Linked DNA regions of Homo sapiens: regions 1, 3, 4, 5, 6 and 7 are each linked to region 2. The links are contacts of gene promoters, found by promoter capture Hi-C in blood cells and fetal thymus (Javierre and others, 2016). All regions are on one chromosome and are shown on one strand. The core of a region is centred on a gene start or on the middle of the fragment in contact, and the rest is flanking DNA. Distances in the headings are between cores, read along the strand shown.

Region 1 (2,976 bases), core at 435-2,934, 950 kb after region 2:
TGGCTCATGCCTGTAATCCCAGCACTTTGGGATGCCGAGGCGGGCAGATCACTTGAGGTCAGGAGTTAGAGACCAGCCTGGGCAACACGGTGAAACCCTGTCTCTACTCAAAATACAAAAATTAGACAGAGAAATTGCTTGAACCTGGGAGGCATAGGATGCAATGAGCTGAGATTATGCCACTGCTCTCCAGCCTGGGCAACAGAGAGAGAATCCGTCTAAAACAACAACAACAACTCACAAAGTAAATTCTATTTACCCCATTTTATTTTTGAAATAACTAATAGGTAGTAAAATTCAGCATCCTGCACTGGATCATACAATTGGTAAGCTGTGGATGTGGGATTTGAACCCAAGTAAGCAGACCCTAGAACCTATATATCTAAGGCATACTGATTACTATCAACGTTCAATTTTTTGCTTTGTTCTTTTATTTCTCCTTCATATACCTTGATTTCCTGACTGGATTATAAATTCTATGAACTGGTTGCATCTCACTCATTTTGATGACTGCTTTAATGCCTAATTAATTACTATTATTTGTGGATAATTTAATATAGATTTCATAGGAGGCTATAGTTTGCTACACTGCTCGTGTACTCTAGAAACAAGGACCCTTGACTTTTTTCTCTTCTTTGGCTATAAGCTTATCTTCTTACCATGTTGAGATACTTTGATTTGATTTTCACTGGTCAAGCAAAAAAACATGTTCTTGTTATTTTCACTTAGGCACTTTGTCTGCCTCCCTGCTGAGGCCCAAAAATTCAGTGTGATCGGTGTGTCTGTCAGAAGGTAGGATTGCTTGCCTAGGGTGGCATTGTTATTGAACAAAACACATGCCCTTTCTTTGCATCCTAAGTGTCTTGGATTGCTGAGCCAGAACCGCTCTGACTCAAATGAAAACCACCTTGTGTTAGGTGAAAGATGGGGAGTTAACCATTTGTTTGCTGGTTTGCATTTCCCACGAAAAACTCAAAAACAGAAATTTACCTCGCCATGGAAAGTGATGTGCCAAGCGTCATATTTGCATATTAAAACCGAAAACTGATTTGCATGTTATTTCAGTGTCTTGTGTCACGTTCAGGCATCTGTCAAGCCCACTAGACAGAAACAGCTTGTACAGTAGGAAAGTGTTTTTATGCATATCAGACTGAAAATCTAGGTGCCTTATTTTTATCAGCAACTTGTCCACACTTTGGGCTCTCCAATCTCTCCTAGGTTCATACCTGAAAATACTAAAGAAAAGTCTGGAACCCCATGTTTTATAAAGTATGTTTCCTGTTATTTTCTAAGAGCTATCCATTTTTATAATATTCTGTTTAGATAATTTTAAAATTATAAAGAGAAAAACTCAAATTAATCATAATATCACAATCCTGACATAAGTCTTGTTAACATTTGGATATATTCACTTCTAGTAGCTGTTTGATAATACTTACATAGGCTAACATATACTGGCCCTTTTGCATATATATTTTTATACATTTGTAATTATCAGATGTACTATTTTCATATCTTCTTATTTTTTGGCACTATAATGGCAAGAATTATGACAATCCAAGTATCTAAAATAACAGATTAATAAAATCTTATTTTGAGCAGACAGGAAATTAGAACCAGTCAGGGCTGGAGCCGTGGCAACCGAAACTCTGTGCCGTCTTTTTGATAGTGCTTTATTAAAACTGTAGCTTGTAATTGAGGATAGTTTTTCTATGGGACAATGCATAGAAAGCTGTGCATGGTGATAAAACCTTTTTTTCCCGACATTAGAGCAACTAGCCCATTGCATTCTTCCAGGCAACCAAATGAAGATGAAACGTGTGCCTGGAGTCACTGCCAGGCATGTGGGGCACAGCAAAGGCCAAAATATGGTTTTAGTTTGAAAACCCAACCTTGAATAATGGTTCATTCTATTCATCAAACTTTTAGGTCATGGGTCTTGCCTAGGTGAAGCCATCCAATGGAAATAATGTCTTGGAATTCTCTTGCCTTTATTATGTCAAATCTCTAATATATAACATCCATAAAGCCTAATTAATGGGAAAAACTGAGTGTATGTTTTAGCCATAACATTGTGGAAATAGGTTCTTTTAGTTTCACACAAATAGAGATCTTCTCACCCCACCGAGAAAACTCGCTTTCTCCTTTACGGAGGGCCCGCATGGAGGTTTAGAGGGAAGGAACCCTGAAATGAGAACTGTGAATAAGGTTGGCAGGAGATCTTTGACCTAGATTCTCCTCGACTCTGAGGATTTGGCGCTTCTGCTCTGCGACTCGCTTTTCTTACTTCTTGCCTACCCGGCAGGATAACATCAGTGGTTGTACCTTGTCTGCCGAAGCCTAAGGGAGGCTGCTCTGCTCTAAATAGCCAAGCATGAGCTTTACTTTACTATTTGTCTTTTGGTCCTAAAGGCGAGACTGTACAAGAATTAATAGTTGGAGAGGCAGCAAGGCATACGTTCACCAAATGGCATGAATTTCAAGATTTGTAGCTAAAAAGTACTCAGAGTAATTACATCCCTTGCTAAAGCAACAATTAATGTGAAATTCGGGTACACTACACTGAAGTCCTTTATCAGCAGATGGAAAAGTGGAGAGTTACTGGAGAGATCTCATTCTGCAAACATTCTGCTTCCAAGAAGAAAATCATCTTTGTTAGTGGTTTCTAAGTTGTCCCTCTTGATAATTATAACTGACATCTATTTGATATTTAATATGTTACAAAGCTTCTTCATATGAATCAGATATTATTATTCTCCAGTTTATATATGAGAAAATCAACAATAGAAAAAGAAATCACTGGAGAACTTAAGTAGTATCTTAGACATCAGGCCTAAGAGCCAGATGCTCCAAGCCCAGGCACTATTATAGCTGCCTTGACACGTGGAGACGGAGAGAGGTGGGTGTGGAGAGACCTCACTTTCCCCCAGCTCAGCCTAGATAAAACCCTTGTGTGCAGAGACCAGGGCCCCCTGA
Region 2 (2,700 bases), core at 23-2,522:
CAAAATACAAACACCGCAGCGGCCAGAAATCCCGCCACCTTTCTCGTTCTCCCAGGCTGTCCTGTCGAGGTTCCCTGAGTCCCCCCGCACACTGAAAGGCATCGCAGGTGCAGTGCGCACCCCTTTCCCACCCACCCCAAGAAGCCCTGTCCCGCCATCAGTCTCTCTCCTCGGGATGAGCAGGGAGAGCGCGCGGAGGTTCCCGACTCCCTCGACTACAACCAAGAAAGAATAATTTTCAAAGTGTTCAACATCCCCGCCCCCAAGCTCCCCAAAACACAGGGGCAGGGAACACCAAAACACTCGGCTCTCATTAGGAAGATCACGGCTCTGAAAGGAAATAGTAGACACGATACTTCATCTCATCTGGATTTATGACCAAAAAAACAAAAACAAAAACCCAAAGAGTTCGCTTGCATTTTTTCCTTCCAAATCTCGGTTCGGCTCGAAGGCAGGGAATCTAAAAGACCGAGGCCGATGGAAGAGAGCCAGCGGGGCGAGCGAGCGGGCAGCCTCCCTTTTTGCCTCCCGGAGTTACCCAGAAGGACAGGGGAAGGGAAGGAAGAAGAGGCGAGGAAAAAGAGGAGGGAGGGAAGCGGAGGCCAGGAGCGACGGAGCAAGGAAAGCAGTTTGCAAGCGAGAAAAGAGGGAAAAAACACAGCCGCACGAATCCAGAGAGATCACAAGCCGTACGCAAGCAGCAGCAGAAAGAGCGAGAGCGCGAGCGCGCGTCCTCTCCGCGGTCTGGGGCCAGACAGCCCCCAGACTAGCCCGAATCACCCCCCAAGCACTGTCTCGTCCTCTCTGCTCCGGCCGCCCCCTAATTCCCCTCCTTCCTCTCCTCCACCTCCTTTCCAAAAACCAAAACAACACAAGGGAGGGTGGCAAAAGCCTCCCCAAACCGGCCGATTCACTCAAAGACAACAATAATAATAATAAATACATAACAATCTATATCCTATGGTGGGAGAGACGTGGGACTAATCTTCGGCATTTATTTTAACACCTGACAGCTAGAATAAATAAATATATACATTTATATCAATAGATACACATAGAAAACTTGGAGCCAAAGCATTTGGCAAGAGCGGAAAAAAAAAGAATTAAAAGGTAAAATAATGATCATGAGCAGCGGCGGCGGCAGCGGCACCAGCGGCAACAGCGGCGGCGGCGGCAGTAGCAGCAGCAGCGGCGGCAGCAACAGCAATAATCACCTGGTGTCCGGCCTTTCCTAGAAACTTCTTGCATCACCACTTCTAAGAACCCCAGTTCTAAGAATCAACAGAGCTCAATTCTCGGAATTTGAGCTTCGGACTTTACCACTGCTACGTGGCAGGGGAGGACTTGGTGTCAGCTCTCCGAGATTTTTACTGCCCCTGGCCAACCAAAAGCCCTCAAAGCCACAAGATTTTTTCACTGGCCGGCATATTTCGAGGTCCTCATAAGCAGAGCGTCTCGGATTTGGAGGTTCCGGTTCGAGGCTCGAGGGGCCTGAAGGTGGCTCTCCCTCCCCGGGCCCAAGACGATGGTATGGCCTGCTCCGCCACCATCACGTGGGCTCCTCCTCTGTGACGTCGGCGCCTTCGCTGTAGCAAAGCTCGGCCTCTGGAATTCTGAGAACTAATTTGCTATTCGGTGACATAAGAGGGGGAGTGCGCTTTGCTTTCCCGGGGTCTGGGGCTAATTCCTTCTTTCTTACCCATAAACTCAGCAGATCGAGCTAAATGCACAAAAGGGAGCGAGAGGTTTGAACCACTGGGAAAAGTATGTTATATATATAGTAGGGTTAGAGAGGCGAGTAAGAGAAAAATAAAATAAAATAAACATCACAGCTCTTTCCAACTAGAATATTAGGCACCACGAGAAAAATATTTGCCAAGCAGTTTTCGGTGGGTTCATTTGCTTTATTTTTATTTAGGACAGGGGTTTTTGCTGTTGTTCTGGGTTTTTTTCTTTCTGGTGTGGTGGCTTGGGATTTTTGGTTTCTGTATTTTGATGGTTTATGGATTTTTGCTTCTGATTTTTTGCCTTTTGCAAGTTTGTGGTGTTACGTAAATCACAGGATCGGCATCGGTTGGATTTTTTTGTACGTGCCTTTTCTTTCCCTATCTAATCCCTCAAGCGTTTTAAAGATGTATTATTTCAATACTAATACTATTGAAAGAAGCTTAAATTTTTGGCCATATGTAACAATCCCAGCCCCCACTTTTTTTTTTTTTTTTTCCTTTGGTGCAATTTTCTTTTTCCCCCTTGGACTTTTGCTGAAGTGTGTCTCTCCTGCACTTCAGAGAAATGTTCAAAGGATTTGTTTTGGTTTGGTTTGTTTCTTTCCAGGACAGCAAGTGGTGGGTTTAATCTGTTATTGTTGACTCTTGGGAAATTTCTTGTTGCAAGAAACGTGTGTGTGGGGGGGAGGGTGGGGGTGGCGGGGTGGTATGTGTGTGTTTTCTACAAAATTCTGTGAGCCAAATACCTGTTTGTGTTTTGTTTTCTCTTAAGGTCTTGAGATTTTTGTTTTCGAGGCTCGTTTCAAGGTCGTTGTAAAAAAATCTCTTCAGTCTGTGTTTAAGAGATCAGCCGGAGGGAATTCTAAAGGCCTGCCGTGCCAGTATCACAGATACTGCCTGTATTTAGAACAGACTGCCACAACTACAATGCACTACACGCAGCACAGTCTTCTTAGCTTTGAAGCTGAGTTGG
Region 3 (2,832 bases), core at 299-2,798, 980 kb after region 2:
AAGTGCAATATGACTGCCAAAGAATATTGGAAGGAGAAATGAGACTAAATGAATGATTAGTGGCCAGATCAAGAGGGCCTCTTATTTCTTACTAAAGAATCTAGAGTCTGTCCTGAAAGTGTGGAAACTCCATGAAGGGTTTCAACAAGGGAACCACAAGATATTGATTAAAGATCACTCTGGGTACTATTGTGGGGAGAGGTGTTCAATGGGACAAGATTTGGGGGATGAAGATCAGTCTGGGTGTCATTTGTACTTGTCTAAGGGGAATAAGGGCTGGAACCAAGATAGTCATCTTGTGACAATTTAGAGAAGGGTTTCAAAGGGGCGTAAGAGGGATGGGCTGAGACTTATTCCTGGGCCTCTATCTTGGGTGGGTAATGACATCACTAAGTGATGTGAGAAAAAGAGAAGGAGTTCAGTAATGGTGATGCCATCAGTCCACAGAGATCCTCTCTTTATCAATACTTATTGAGCACTTGCTGTGTGTACACACTGTTCTAAGCATTGGTGCTACAGCAGATGAAAAGCTTCTTTTATGGGGCTTACATTCCAGTGAGAAGAAAATGATGACACATAAATAAAATACATAGCAGGTCAGATAGCAGTATATCCTATTGAGAAAATTATGCAGGAGAAAGGGATAGTGAGTGATACAGTGGTATTGGAGTGGAAGTATTATGGTGAATAGTGTGACCGCTATAATTGTGAGGTCTCTATTATGGGTGAAATCTGGTCTGCCTAATTTTGTTTCTTTTCCATTTTTTGTTTGTTTGATGAATTATTATTTCTCGTAAACAAGGCAAATAAACAGCAATAGCAACATAAACATTTACAAGCACATAGATGTAGGCATAATAGTTTGTGTTGCCAACATAACACATGCCAGGAAAAACAAAAGAAAACAGCAGCTAAAAAAAGTAAATATCAAAAAAGGGAGCTTTCTCAGACACAAATTCTTATCATTCAAAATGCTGTGTAGTTTGAATTAGAAAGTCACAGAATGGGACCTTAGATTTAATCCAAATCTCTTAGTTTAGGCAGAAAAACCTTCAGCCGAGCAAGGAAGTCAGTTATTCAAGGACACACAGGTAGGTCTACAATTTAGGTGCTCTAACTTCATGTCTAAGGATCTTACCCTTATCACCATCCCAGAAAAGCCCAAAGTAGCTTGGGTCTGAATTTCCACTTTGCCACAGTAACCTTGAGCAAGTTTTGCTTCTCTTTGCAACAGTTTGCTCATTTGCAAGGTAGGGATGATTATAAAAGTGTCTGTGATAGGGGGTTTTGGAGGATTAAATAAGTTAATAATACATGCAAATTACTTACAGATGTGGGCTGACACACAGTTAATGTTCAGCAGTACTGAGAGTATTGAAACGTTATGATACAGGCTACTTAGGTTTTGTGTATTTGAACATAAACTTCAGACCAATTTCTGGTGATGACCACGGGTAAGATATTCTGTGTTTTAGTTAAGATGATTTCCAGTTAAGATGTTGAAATATTAAATACTTTTCTTGGGTCACTGAATAATTATAAAATATATTAAAATAACTTTGATATTTATTTCATTCATAGAAGTTCTAGACAATCCAGTCTAGAGAAGAGTTATGTAAAATTCTACACCAGAAATAGAACCCTAACCTTGAAAGACAGGGACACTTATTCATATATGTATGTCTAACACAAATGGGCCTCATAATTGTTGACAGCCACTTATTGAGCATTGACCATGTGCCAAGCAGCATGCTGAACACTTCACATAGCTGGTCTTACTTAATGCTCACAACAGGTAAGCATTCATATCCGGATTTTTCAGATGAGAAAATTGAGTCTTAGGCAGTTCAGTACCTTGTCCAAGGTTATACGGATATCAAGAGCCTAGATCTTCATAAGCCAAGTCTCTGTTCTTTTTGCTCAGCAAATACCTATTTTTAATGAGGATGCTTTTCTCAACTAGCTACTATATTCTGCAACCAGTCTGCATTTTACACTGCTATCCTTTCTGTGTCATTCCTAATACTCATTCATAGAATTATAAGATCATAGATTGTTAAGGCTGGAGGAAACCTGAGGAGTTTCTTGGTTCTCAGCATAAAGACTCAGAATCACCTGGGGGAGCTTTATCACATTCAAAACTACACACCCACACACATCTACCTTGTATTTACAATGAAACTCTGATCTACTGACATAACCCTAGATCCACTGAGAAAATATTATTACTCGGAGAAAATTTAGCTGATGGAGTGTGCCATACCCCACGTGTGATGAGATAACAAAAAAAGTTGACAATTACTGATCTAGTCCAATCTTACATCACAAACATGAAAACAGAATGAAGAGTGACAATCACTTTCTAAAGATTTTTAAAATGTCACTTATAACTATCTGCAAAAGAACCTGCGTCTTTTGACTTATAATGTTAAGTGATTTTCTTGTTTATTCCTTAAAACTGCCTTTGTAGAATGCACTATGTTATTTGATGGTTCTGGAGTAATACAAAAGAAGAGAGTGATTAATTTGCCTGGGATCCTACAACAAACCAGTTGACCAAGAGATAATAAGCTTATTATATTATGCAGATCTATACCTATTCACTTCGTTTAGTTAAGAAACAGCTCATCAATATGGAATACACATTTTCATAGTAGATTTGTGGGTTGCATAGCTTTTTTGTGTCTGTTTTCAATTTCTGTTCCTTTGATAACTGAACAAATAACAGAGATGGTGAAACCCAGCAAGCAAATTATCTTCCAGATTTTATGTGATCTCCCTTCTCTAGTGAGTTGGTATGTCTACTAATGACACAGTAGATTATAAGGTTAT
Region 4 (2,744 bases), core at 72-2,571, 910 kb after region 2:
GGTTTTAGAAAAGGATTAAGAGAAAATTGGCAGACAGAATTAGGGAGATTGCTTAATCAATATCACAATATAACGATGCTGGGTAGAAGATGCATGGAAGAAGCATGGATTATCTCAATGACGATTTTATTTTGAAGATAGTGTGATTATCACCCCTGGGGATGCTGGAACATTACACTGGGGATTTAGTCACCAACTGAAGCAGATCTCTGGGTTGAATAGATCACCATGAAGGTTGTTTCCAACCTTAAGTTTTCTTAAATTTCAGAAGTTCAATGAGTTCTTCTCCAAGGATCAAGGAGGATATCTACTAGAAATCTACTATAGAATAGAGAGAATTGGTCTATACACAAGTTTATTTAAATTAAATAATCCTGATACCATTTTGAACTTTTCAGTCAAAACCTACCATATGCAGCTCTTACCAGTGACTTCAGTGCTTCCTTATACAAGGTGCAAGCGGTGCTAATCTCACATTAAAAAAACACTTTGGGCCAGTTGCGGTGGCTCACAACTGTAATCCCAGCACTTTGGGAGGCCAAGGTGGGTGGATTACCTGAGGTCAGGAGTTTGAGACCAGCCTGACCAACACGGTGAAACCCCGTCTCTACTAATAATACAAAAAAAATAGCCAGGCATGGTGGTGCATGCCTGTAATCCCAGCTACTCAGGAGGCTGAGACAGGAGAATTGCTTGAACCCAGGAGGTGGAGGTTGCAGTGAGCCGAGGTCACGCCATTCCACTCCAGCCTGGGCAACAATAGCGAAACTCAGTCTCCAAAAGGAAAAAAAAAAAAAAAAAACACTTTGATTTTAGAAAGAAGGTCTGTGCCCAGGCGCTCCCAGGTGCTGCCAGGCCTCAGAGGAAGGGTTCTGAAGACAAACCTGACTGCCTCCTTCCACATGCTATGTCTGCAAATATTGGCTGCCTTCAAGCTCACAGCCTGTGACAGCAAGTTGGTTTCATTTCTTAAAGTTGATCTTCAAAGCCGTGAAGCAATCGCAAACTGTTTGAGATCCCAAATCAAAGAACAGATTGTGTAGACTCAAAAAAAGCAAACAAACAATTACATTTAAAAACAAAGTGTTGGAAAAAACCAGCAACAACCTTTCTGCTCACCTGCCAAGGCCTTGTGGCTAAGCTTCTGTTTTTGCCAAATTGTAGCAAATCACATCAGACAGTGTCCTTCTTGTACTACTGACAGGTGACCCATTTCCTGGTGGTTAAATCTGGAGGGATTTGGGAGTTCTTGCTCTTAACATGACTTTCCCACTGACTGGATTTGTGATTGTAAGCACATCACACTCATTTCCTCCATTTGAAATGCAGGTTCTCTGAAGCCTTCTGGCTTGAAGGAATAATAGTGAGTAATACCTAACATTGGCATTGCACAGCATGCCACTGAGGGCTGCCCAATAGCTCTGTGAAAGAGATGAGGAAACAGGATTAGAGAAGGGACCAGCTCACAGTCACAGGACTAGTAAATTATGAAGTGAGAATTCAAGCTTTCCAATATCCCTTGTTCTTCCTACTACATGATACCACTTCTAGCTAACCACTCATTCAGTAGCTCTTGAAAAGGATATTCTGTTACCTCCTTTGAAGATAATATTTGATCCCTACTTTCTCACAGGGCTTTCCAAATAGAGTCCACATTGGCCCATTTCCATGGAACATTTTGCTGGTCTTTAGGTATTTTATTAATTGCTGAATTGTTTAGGGGTTTTAAGTTGTCTAAGGAGACTATATCTGAATTCAATTATTTTTTTCCTCTTTCCCCTCGAGCATGCACATTCTTTGTAATACTGTAGTGATGTATAAGTTTTCAAGAGCTGTCAAGGTGTATATATATATATATATATATATTTCCAAAAGCAGATAGTATAGTACATTTACTACAGTTGTTTCACTTTGATATGGATAAAAAATGTATAAAAAAGGCAAAGAATTCTGTGAGTGTCATTACAACTTTAATTTCAAAATTTTTGCCCTTATGTTATTTGCTATACTTGGCTTTCCTCGACATTATAAATCATTGATCACAGGCTGGTATAAATTTAGCATTACCAGTGGATTCTGCGTATTTGATATGCTCTTTTTATTTTGGTTTTGTCAGTTTGCTACTCGTGAGTTTATCTTTGAACAGCTTCCCATGGCTATGGGATTAGGTCTGTACTCCAGAGCCTGATATCTATGGGCCTTTTTTTCTTAGCCTTTCTAGTCTTTTTACCCCATATTTCTTCATGATATCCATAGTTTGTCCAACCTAAACAAAGAGCTAGTCCCCAAGCACACTAACCCGTTACATTCATCCCTCTGCTTTTAATACAATTGTTTCTCTATAGAGAATACCTTTAAAAATATATATAAGTTGGCTAAGCTCAAAAACACCACTTCTATGATAATACTCTTACAGATTCTTCCATTTGTAAATATGCATGCTCATAGTACTCTTACAGCGTTGGTCCTCTCTTATAACATTGTTAGAGTAGATACTGTAAACTGAAAAGTGACACATAAAAATACATAATGGTGCAGCTCAGATATGTGTCATCTTAATATTCCTATTAACCTTAGAACTTTGTGACTGTGTTGGGATTACTTGACATATTTGTTTATCAATCAACACAGTGACAGTGACAACGAATGAGTAACCAGTGTTTTGTTTTTGAAACATTTGAAGAAGTGTTCCATATTTCTGAAGTTATTAGTTTAGTTTAGGTTAGTTTAGTTTAGTTTAGTTT
Region 5 (3,024 bases), core at 385-2,884, 930 kb after region 2:
GGCCCTGTGAGCTTGGTCAATTTACATCATCTCATGAATGACATAGGGCCCTATATGTGGAAACAAATAACAACAACAACAAACCACTGTAGAGTCATATCAAAGAAAAATGAAGGTGGTATTCATCCACATCAATATTAAGATAAATTATTAAATATTTATAAAACTCTTTGACAGTGTACAGCCTCTATAATTAATCAATGTAGCACTTTCTCAATACTTCCCCATTTTAATTAGTACCAACATCAATCATAATTAGGCTCATGCTTTGGTCTCTCTGAGACTTTTAAAACATTATGGGTAGGGGGCATTTTTCAGGATTCAGGTATCAGCTAAGAGTTCATTTAGCCAGTAGATCGTGACCATTCTTCCTCTCCCTGAAGCTATGATTCTGGATACTGTGGCTCTTCCTGCTCCTCCAGACATAGAGAAAATGGACAAGTTTCTCCTTCCCCATTTTGAGTGCATGATGTGAAAACTTAGCTTGTCCAGCCAAACTGGAGGAAGGAGAGGCGGGACTTATTGGAGTAACTGAAAAGAGAAAAATTGGAATATGAGCAGTACCAATACTCAGTCTCTTAAGGAAGGGTAGAGTCCCTTTCTTTCTGTCTCTGTAATTTTTTTCTTTTTTGTTTTTTTTTTTTTCAAAGAAGATTGCATAAGATTCTGTCTCTCTAGGAGATGACTGATGAAATATACCCCCTGGGTCATTTGCATCTTACTCCTTTGTAGTGTAGGGAAGAACATTCCAAACCCATTATAAGCACTTACTGTTGTTGGGCATGTCATAACAAACACAATACCTTTCTGGAATATACTGCTGAGCCCTTGGCTTTTTGCTGAATTTGCCTAAAAGCCCTTCTGCCTATTGAGTGGCCACATTCTGAACTAGTTATACTTGGTTAAGTTTTCACACAGTACACTCTGGGATACTAGGGTTGCAACAATTTAAAAAAGAACATAGATGGAAGCTTTATATCTCAAAAGCTCCTACCTTTGACTTCCCTGACAATTTTTCCTTCTCCTGCTCTTCAACTCTATGTTTCCCAACTTTGTTTTTGTAAACACGAAAAGTAAATTTTTTACCATTTTGTGCCTAATTCCTCTTCTTTCTCTCTTCTCTTTTTACTCATCACAGGAATGTCTTAGCTTTCCTTCCTTCTCCAATCTGCCTTGGGTATAGAGTCACGCCTTTAAATCTTTTAGCATACCACAATGTAACTTACATAAGGAAATGTTTAATTTGGGAACCTCAATTGGTTTTGTTAACACTGCTGCACCGAAGCTCTAGCTGAATTCACATAATCTCATGATTTTAGTAAAGGTAACAAAGGAAAACGATTATGTAAGTACCTACTTTTCAACAAACATTGGGCTGGGTTTCTTCTTTACATTTTCTCATTTAATCTTCATAATAACCCTGCTAGATAAGGTTTACCATCTCATTTTGCAATGTGGAATCTGGAGCCCAGAGATATTAAATACCTTGTACGAGAGTAGGTGTGCAAAGCTAAACTTTGAACCTAGGCATCTCTGACTTCAAAGTCTATGCTTTTTCCACCTCATAGAAAGACCATCCAGAAGATCAAGTGTTGGAACCTTCCGAGGCTGTGACATATTTATTACTTCAAAGTTTATTATCACAGGACATGCATGCTGCTTTAGCAACTAGAAGTGTGTGAATGAATATTACTATTGTGTTGCATAAGTCCTTGGCAATATTACTTTTTAGGTGCCATTCTAATCCTGCCCTGTTTGGAATAATTGTGATTACGAGGGCATAGGAGTAATTCAGAAATTTTTTGAAGAAATTTCTCCCACAGCATTAGCCTTAGTTATGAGTATAATACAAAAGAAGAGGACCAGCCCTGCTGGAAGGTAAATGAAAAGATGGAGGAATTGAACGATTACATAACAGCTGTTCAGACTTGTGGTACTGATTAGAGTCATTTGTAGAGATGAAGCAGTGTGTCAAGCCAGTGTGGGCTAGGGTATACTGGGAAGTTCTCACAGACAGAATGAAGTGGGTTGCGGCAAGCCCTGAGGTATGGCAAAATCTGGACAGCTAGCCTGGATCTTCATTTTTCATTAGTTGGCTTCCTTAACTGCTCAACAAGTAGACCAAACAAACAAACCACGCATACACACAAAGCAAAGAAGTAAATAAAGAATGGTGGGGCTAAGACTGTGAATAGCTCCTAGCAAATTAGAGAAATAGCTTCAAGTATATGCCTTCTGGATGATGTATGTTTGTATATGAAGGACAACACATCAAGGGGTGTTGGTAGTAATCTGTGCTAAGCTTAGAAGCCAGTATATCATTGTTCTAGTTCTATTTCTACTGTCGAGTGGCTTTATAGCCTTAGACAAGTCATGTAACCGTTCAGGCCCCAAATGTCCTTCTGGAATTACAGGGATTGAACTGGATGAATAAAAAGTTCTATTTCAACTCCAACATTTAATAATTCTAAAGTTCTTAGTGAGCTCTGATTGCTCATTTGCATTACATAGGCATATATTAACCATTTTAATATGTATCAGAAAAGGTATGTTCTTTTTCCTCAGAAATGTTGAAGCCTGACTTTGTTATAGAAAGCACCCAGGAATCATGTCTTCAGAGTTCCTAATTTTTAGTGTTTTCTTGTACTGCCCCGACTGCTGCAATCCTCTCTCTTACATTGGAATTCTGTTTTAAGTTTTGGTGATTGGAATCCTCTTTTTGATTTAAGAGAAAGAATCCTAGGGGTGAAAGATTACTATACTGGAAATGAAAGATTACTAGTCTCTAAATGAGAATTGGCTTTGGTCTGTAATAGATAAAAAGATTTTTAAGGGAAAAATATTAGAAAAGTGAAAACGTTTTTAAAAAAAATAGGTAGCAGTCACCACCGTATTCTGGTGGAATCGAATTCTTGAAGATTAGATTTGTGTATTCATGGAATAATCTAGACAAAATCCTGCCTTGCACATAGTGGGGAGATACACTAAAATACTGAAACAGCTACATTGTATTCAGGTGAAGCT
Region 6 (3,097 bases), core at 493-2,992, 760 kb after region 2:
GTCTTTTGATTTTTTGTTGTTGTTGAAAATTGCATATTTGAAACTAATAATGTAGAGCCCTGGAAATCAGACCTTTTCTCTTCCCCAAGGTTTACTGTTACCGTTTGTATTTTGTGGGGTTATTGTTGCCAGTCTCTGTGCTAAGTATTAGCTTTTTTTGTTAACTTGTGGTCTTAAGTATTTTCTGAGCCTGCATGTTTCCCTGGTTATGTGCCATGACTTTCTCATTTCCTCTGTTGTTTTCAAATGCCCTGGTTATCAAGGTCTGTCTCCCAAAATGAGAAAAAGTAAAAAATAAAGGAAGAAAAAAAAAAAAAGGACTGGCCTTTTGAGTCCCATGGAAGTCACTTCAGCTGGAGTGAGAGGGGCAACACTAATGATAGTTGCCCCTTTTTCTTTATGTGTGTGATTAAAAGCAGCAATTAATGTTCAGTCCACAGATCCTTGATATATGGAAGACAGGTCCTTTTTGCCCAGCTTGGATCATGTAAGCTGTATGCAAGCTGCTTCAAGTACATGTGCACAGATGCCTGCCAAGGATCTAAGAGGTGGGGTATAGGTAGTTGCTATTGTGCTGAGATGTAAACTTTACCTAAATTAACCACAACTTACCATCTAAAGCTTCCCTCCAGAAAGTAGACTCCTTTAATAGACTCTGGACTTCCAAAATAAGTTGTTGATATAGATGGTGGCAGTGCAATCGTTGTCTAGGTGGAAAGACAGATTTGTGGTGCCTCCTGCTTTGCCATATTCTCAGAATCCCTTTCACTTCCTTCGATTTTTACTAAGCAGAACTAACTTCCTTAATTCCTCTGCCATGCCTGCAACTATTCCTTTTCTCCCTTCTTTACCACCCCCTCCTCCTTTCTCCCTGTCTCTAAATTTAGGTTCCCACTCAGAGTTCTCACTTTGACCTTCCGTTTTCTCTCAGTAGATGTCACTACTCTAATAAGATCAACTTTGATCTTTCTTTATCTAATTATTTGAACTGCTTGTGACTTGGTACTGTGTTTTCCTTTGACAAGTTTTGTTTCATTTATCCATGAGATCTTTTCATAGATAACACCTGCCTTTTCACTTTCAATGTATCCCTAATTCTACTCATCATCTTACTCAAAGGCTTACATTCTGTTAGACATACCATTATATTTTCTAGTCTTGCCAACTAAATCGTGTTCATTGATGATATATCTTGCTTTCTTTGTATATCTATCACCAAGGCTTACAGGATTATTTCAATCTCTTTATTTTCTTGCCCATCATCCTAGTTCATATCTTCTGGGTTACAACCTACTCATTGCCTTCATTCTATCTTTTTCACATTCCAACTGCATATCTGTAACCACTTAGTGGTTTAAAAAATATTATTTTCTTCCTTTGGCTTTTCCACATTAAATTTCTCCTCTTGGTTTATTTTTCAGAGTACTCTATGACCTACCTCATCCTATGTAGCACACTGTATCTCCCACTGTCCTTTTTATACAGTCCTTGCTCTTTTGAAGCTCATATCGTCATTGTCAGCTTCATATGCCAAGCCAATTTTTCTTGTGTCTTTCTCAATACCTGATGAACCCTCATATCCTCATTTTTAGAAGCCTAACTCTACTATTTTACTCATACGTGTCTGACAACTGGATCATCTTGATCTCTCTCTTCTCTGCATCCTCAGTCTTTTGATTGAGTCATGTGATGTGGTGGCATGAGCCCAGGGTTTAGGGCTAAGAAACCCTGCTCTGTTGCTTATCACTGCATTTCCCATCTTTACATGCAAAAATGAGGATATTAATAACAATTTTTAGAAGGTTATTTTGAGGACTAATTAAGATAATGTAGAGTATCCAACAACTGCTGGTTCAGAGTAAAGGCTACTATGAGTCAGTTAATAAATAGATTTATTAATGCTGTTTGATTTTTTCTGCCACTTAATATATACCCTTTTGTGGGGTAATGTAATCATTGCATGTACATTAATCTTGCCACCAAACTTTATTTTATAAGCCAGAATCATAAAATAACATGGGAGACTTGTAGAAATTATTTAAAATCACAAATCGTAGAGCACCAGATTTGACATGGTCCTAACCCCTCTGCCCTTTCTTGTGATGAGGAAACTGGAGCCTAAATTTCTTAAGTGAACTGTTCATGGTGACACAGTTACTAGGAGAGCTGGTCCTAACCACAACTAGAGATTTCTGGACTCCCAGGCCTCTGCTCTTTCCATTACCTTCTTGTTCATTTATTTTAGCAATTGCCTGAAGGCAGGATCACAACCCATATTTCTGTATCACCCATAACCTTTATTTTCATTTCATTTTATTTTTTTTGAGATGGAGTCTTGCTCTGTTGCCCAGGCTGGAGTGCAGTGGCGCAATCTCGGCTCACTGCAAGCTCCGCCTCCCGGGTTCACGCCATTCTCCTGCCTCAGCCTCCCAAGTAGCTGGGACTACAGGCGCCCACCACCACACCTGGCTAATTTTTTGTATTTTTAGTAGAGACGGGGTTTCACTGTGTTAGTCAGGATGGTCTTGATCTCCTGGCCTCGTGGTCCACCTACCTCGGCCTCCCAAAGTGCTGGGATTACAGGCATGAGCCACCACGCCCGGCCCATAACCTTTATTTTATTGCGAGAAGATAGAATAGCTACTTGATTGATATTTGTGGCTTGATTGATCTATTCTTTCTTCGACTGTGCAATAGGAATTCTCTGGGAAAGGACTATGAAGTCTGTATACTTATCACCCTTTTGATGCTTTTGGGGTTGTTGTAAGCATGCAAAGGGTTCATTGTGCACTGCTTCTGTATACTGACTCAGGGTGGTGGGGAGAGGAAATGGGAGAGGAAGTTATATACATCTTGAGCAAATCAAGCTTTTCTATTTTTAGTCCTTGCTACTGTTTGGAAAGTACAGCCTCTGTTCATGGCAGTCTGGCATGTGTTTCCTTAGTGCCATTTCGAAAGGGGGAAAAAATAAATATGGGAATTTTTTTTTTTTGTAGTGAAAATAGTTACTCAGTGAAATCACATAAGTTTCCCGTTTTTCTCTTGATGAAACCTCAAACCCACTAGGCACAGATTCCTCAACCTCAACTATGCATGT
Region 7 (3,044 bases), core at 238-2,737, 790 kb after region 2:
AGCTCCATTCTCAAAACAAGTCTGAAAAATGTGAGCTCTTGAAAATAGGTTTTGCTAAAGCATTTTCTTCCTTTTATTCTAGGGAGTATTTTCCGCTCCCAAATTTTCTGACTTTAGTTATGTTCACTTACTAATCCCTATATTGATTTTGGAAATTTGGCTTAATTCCACATATTCATTGATTCATTGATTCATTCACCTAACATTTGATGAGATCCTCCTCTGGATCAGTCATTGGAGATTTAAAGGTTAGTATCAACAGGTCTTTCCTTTAGAGTGATATTTAATCTTACAGAAGAGATAAGCCCGTAAGTAACCCAAAGGGACACAGGAGAAGGGCTTCAATGTGCTACTTAAATTGTCACGTAAATCACCACGTGTCAAAATTATTGGGAGATAAAATACAGGAATACCAACATTGTACCTTATACCTTTCAGTGTCAGAGAGGACTGCGTAGAGCAGGCAGTATTTGAGCTAACTTGGCTTAAAGTGTTACGGGAAGGGCATGGGATTCAAGGTGCAAGAATAACAAGAGTGAGAAAGTCAAGGAACGTGGAAAGTGAATATTATTTGAAGAATAAGTTTGTCTAATGGGGTATGTAAAGTGTAAATGGGATTACTGCTGAAAAACTCAAACTTACTTAGCAGTACCTAAGTAGCCCTTTTGATGCCCAAGGGCTTTCATTGTTAGAAAGAGAAATTTACAGGGGGATAGCAACAGTGTTACTGGCTGCAGTGATTTTGGAGTAATGACTTTAGCTTACAGCTACTTTATAAAAAAATCCTCCATGACGCTGCATGGATTTATGCAATTAAATTACATTAGTGTTTGAAACCAAAATTTCTAAACATTTTAAATGTGTTTGTCAGGGAGTAGTTTTAGAAGAACAGATGTGAAAAGTTCAGAGGTGATCCTGGAGTGAATTGCAGACAAAATGTGATCATAGAATATCAGAGCTTTAGTGGGCCTTCCAGCTCACTTAGCCAAACTCTTATTCTACAGATGGAAAGCTTTTGCCCAGAGAGGGAAAGAACACACTCAAGGAGGCTCATTTAGAGACAGTTTCAGTGATTCTTTGTATTTTCCCCGAACTATGACACAAAGGCCCAGCTTGATGATAACCACGACCAGGGGAGAGTTTGGTTTCCTTTAGTATCACAATTGGTTTATTCCAAAAAGTCTTTCTTTTATGGCGTCTTCTTTAAAATAAGTCTCAAACACATAACAAAGAATTAGGCATATCAAAGACGTACTTCAATGGTAAACAGAAAACTTATGACGTTGTAACATCTTTAAGCTAGTATATATCTAAACCCAACCCATTAGGTAGGCATGATTTGTTAGTATAAGTACAGCTTAGCCTCTAGAAGCTATGCAGGGGTTGGAACGAAATTCTGTCTATTTCTTAGAAGACAAGAGATCAATCATGAACTAATGACTTTTGTGTTCCTTCTTTTATCAGAGTTAGGGTACAGTATTCATCTTCTAGTTTCTAGTACAGGGCTGTCTTTTTTTCCCCAAGTAAGTTTGGTAGGATTGGAGCTGATGACTGAGTGACTTGGAACACTTTTCAAATAAACTGTCTTACGTTAATATTTCATGGTAGCTGGAGATTTAGTAATTTGTGAATCAAGTTGCTTTTGAATTGATTAAATGGGCTTTCACTATCCTCATTTAGACTAGTGTGATACTGTGAAATAATAAGAAATAATATATAAATATATTTTTCTACTCCAGTTTCTGAATCAGTGTTTGTAAATCCTTATAATTTCCTAGGTGATAGGGGTGCTGGTAGCATCTTTTGTTCTAACATTATTTTGTTATTGACCTTGGTTCCTGACTCAGAGCTACTGAATTCTGTGGAATTTCCTGAGTGATGGAAATATCTATTGTTTTGATGAGGCAACTCTTGGTGGGCTCCTGGATTTTGGCTGGTTACCAGAATGACCAAGCAATGATTTGAAGCTTGGAAGTTTAATCTTCACCTCTCATCCTCTGGGGATGAGAAAGGGGCTAGAGATTGAATGAATAACAAATCATGCCTATGTTTTGAATGTTTTGAAGTCTGTATAAAAATCCCTGAAGTGCAGAGAGGTTTCAGGTTGTTAAGCACATCTTTATGCCAGGAGGGTGGCATACCCCAACTCTATGGTAACAGAAGCTCCTATACCCAGGACCCTTTTGGATCTAGCCCTGTGCACTTCATCATCTGCCTGTCCATCTTTATCCTTTATCGTATCCTCTATAATAAACTAGTAAATGTAAGTAAGCATTTCCCTGAGTTTCATGAGTAATTCTAGCATATTATCAAACTTGGGAAGGGGATAATGGCAAACCCCAATTTGTAGTCAAATCAGACAGAAGTCTGGGTAACTGGTGACCACCCCTACTCTGCCCCACCACCGCAGCTTGTGATTGACATATGAAGTGGAAACAGTCTTGTGGGACTTGAACCCTTAACCTGTGGGATCTGTAATAGTAACTCCAGGTAGATTGTGTCAGAACTGAATTGAGTCATAAAACACCCATCTGATACCATAGAATCAGTTGATGTATGAAAAAAACCCTCACATTTAGTGCCAGAAGTAAAGTGTTCTGTCCAGGCATGGTATCTCACACCTGGAATCCCAGCACTTTGGGAGGCTGAGGCAGGTTGATTGCTTGAGGTCAGGAGTTTGAGACCAGCCTGGTAAACATGGCGAAACCCCAGCTCTACTAAAAACAAACAAACAAACAAACAAACAAAACTTAGCTGGGGGTGGTGGCATGCACCTGTAGTCCCAGCAACTCGAGAGGCTGAGGCAGGAGAATTGCTTGAACCTAGGAGACAGAGGTTGCAGTGAGCCGAGATTGTGCCACTGCACTCCAGCCTGGGCAACAGAGCAAAACTCTGTCTCAATCAATCAATCAATCAATCAATCAATAGAAGTGAAGTGTTCTGTGAGTAGCATAGAGGAAAGAGGTGAGTTTTTCTTCTTCAACTAATATGAAAAATTTGGAGATATTTTGAAAATAAGAATAGGGTGGGGCATAGTTTGATAG

What was found. The method cuts DNA at HindIII sites, captures the fragments that hold promoters and counts their contacts. A CHiCAGO score of 5 or more calls a contact.
Region 1: a contact is called between a fragment that was not itself captured here and the fragment with the promoter of BCL6 in region 2, in 1 of 17 cell types (M1 macrophages). The highest score is 5.3, in M1 macrophages.
Region 3: a fragment that was not itself captured here is called in contact with the fragment with the promoter of BCL6 in region 2 in 5 of 17 cell types (naive CD4 T cells, naive B cells, total CD4 T cells and 2 more); the score reaches 6.4 in naive CD4 T cells.
Region 4: a contact is called between a fragment that was not itself captured here and the fragment with the promoter of BCL6 in region 2, in 1 of 17 cell types (M2 macrophages). The highest score is 5.4, in M2 macrophages.
Region 5: a contact is called between a fragment that was not itself captured here and the fragment with the promoter of BCL6 in region 2, in 2 of 17 cell types (M1 macrophages and erythroblasts). The highest score is 5.6, in M1 macrophages.
Region 6: a fragment that was not itself captured here is called in contact with the fragment with the promoter of BCL6 in region 2 in 7 of 17 cell types (M1 macrophages, M0 macrophages, M2 macrophages and 4 more); the score reaches 25.3 in M1 macrophages.
Region 7: a contact is called between a fragment that was not itself captured here and the fragment with the promoter of BCL6 in region 2, in 1 of 17 cell types (endothelial precursors). The highest score is 5.4, in endothelial precursors.

The regions. Positions count from the first base shown.
Region 1 is chr3:188,696,363-188,699,338 of GRCh38, forward strand. All of the region lies in intron 7 of LPP (LIM domain containing preferred translocation partner in lipoma), which reads left to right. Among named protein-coding and RNA genes, the nearest start is that of MIR28, 9.1 kb to the left of the region's middle. The HindIII fragment of the contact is 2,080 bases long and covers 645-2,724 here.
Region 2 is chr3:187,744,196-187,746,895 of GRCh38, forward strand. It overlaps BCL6 (BCL6 transcription repressor), which reads right to left and starts at 1,273. Exons shown (of 10, transcript NM_001706.5): 1 at 1,215-1,273. BCL6-AS1 (BCL6 antisense RNA 1) reads left to right here. Exons shown (of 2, transcript NR_173091.1): 2 at 1,049-1,831. RefSeq lists an enhancer at 386-911. The HindIII fragment of the contact is 3,720 bases long and covers 1-2,165 here.
Region 3 is chr3:188,725,955-188,728,786 of GRCh38, forward strand. All of the region lies in intron 8 of LPP (LIM domain containing preferred translocation partner in lipoma), which reads left to right. Among named protein-coding and RNA genes, the nearest start is that of MIR28, 39 kb to the left of the region's middle. The HindIII fragment of the contact is 2,041 bases long and covers 529-2,569 here.
Region 4 is chr3:188,655,416-188,658,159 of GRCh38, forward strand. All of the region lies in intron 7 of LPP (LIM domain containing preferred translocation partner in lipoma), which reads left to right. Among named protein-coding and RNA genes, the nearest start is that of MIR28, 32 kb to the right of the region's middle. The HindIII fragment of the contact is 364 bases long and covers 1,140-1,503 here.
Region 5 is chr3:188,673,261-188,676,284 of GRCh38, forward strand. All of the region lies in intron 7 of LPP (LIM domain containing preferred translocation partner in lipoma), which reads left to right. Among named protein-coding and RNA genes, the nearest start is that of MIR28, 14 kb to the right of the region's middle. The HindIII fragment of the contact is 1,331 bases long and covers 970-2,300 here.
Region 6 is chr3:188,504,492-188,507,588 of GRCh38, forward strand. The region is part of intron 5 of LPP (LIM domain containing preferred translocation partner in lipoma); the gene reads left to right. Among named protein-coding and RNA genes, the nearest start is that of LPP-AS1, 63 kb to the right of the region's middle. The HindIII fragment of the contact is 2,246 bases long and covers 620-2,865 here.
Region 7 is chr3:188,529,526-188,532,569 of GRCh38, forward strand. All of the region lies in intron 6 of LPP (LIM domain containing preferred translocation partner in lipoma), which reads left to right. Among named protein-coding and RNA genes, the nearest start is that of LPP-AS1, 38 kb to the right of the region's middle. The HindIII fragment of the contact is 955 bases long and covers 1,011-1,965 here.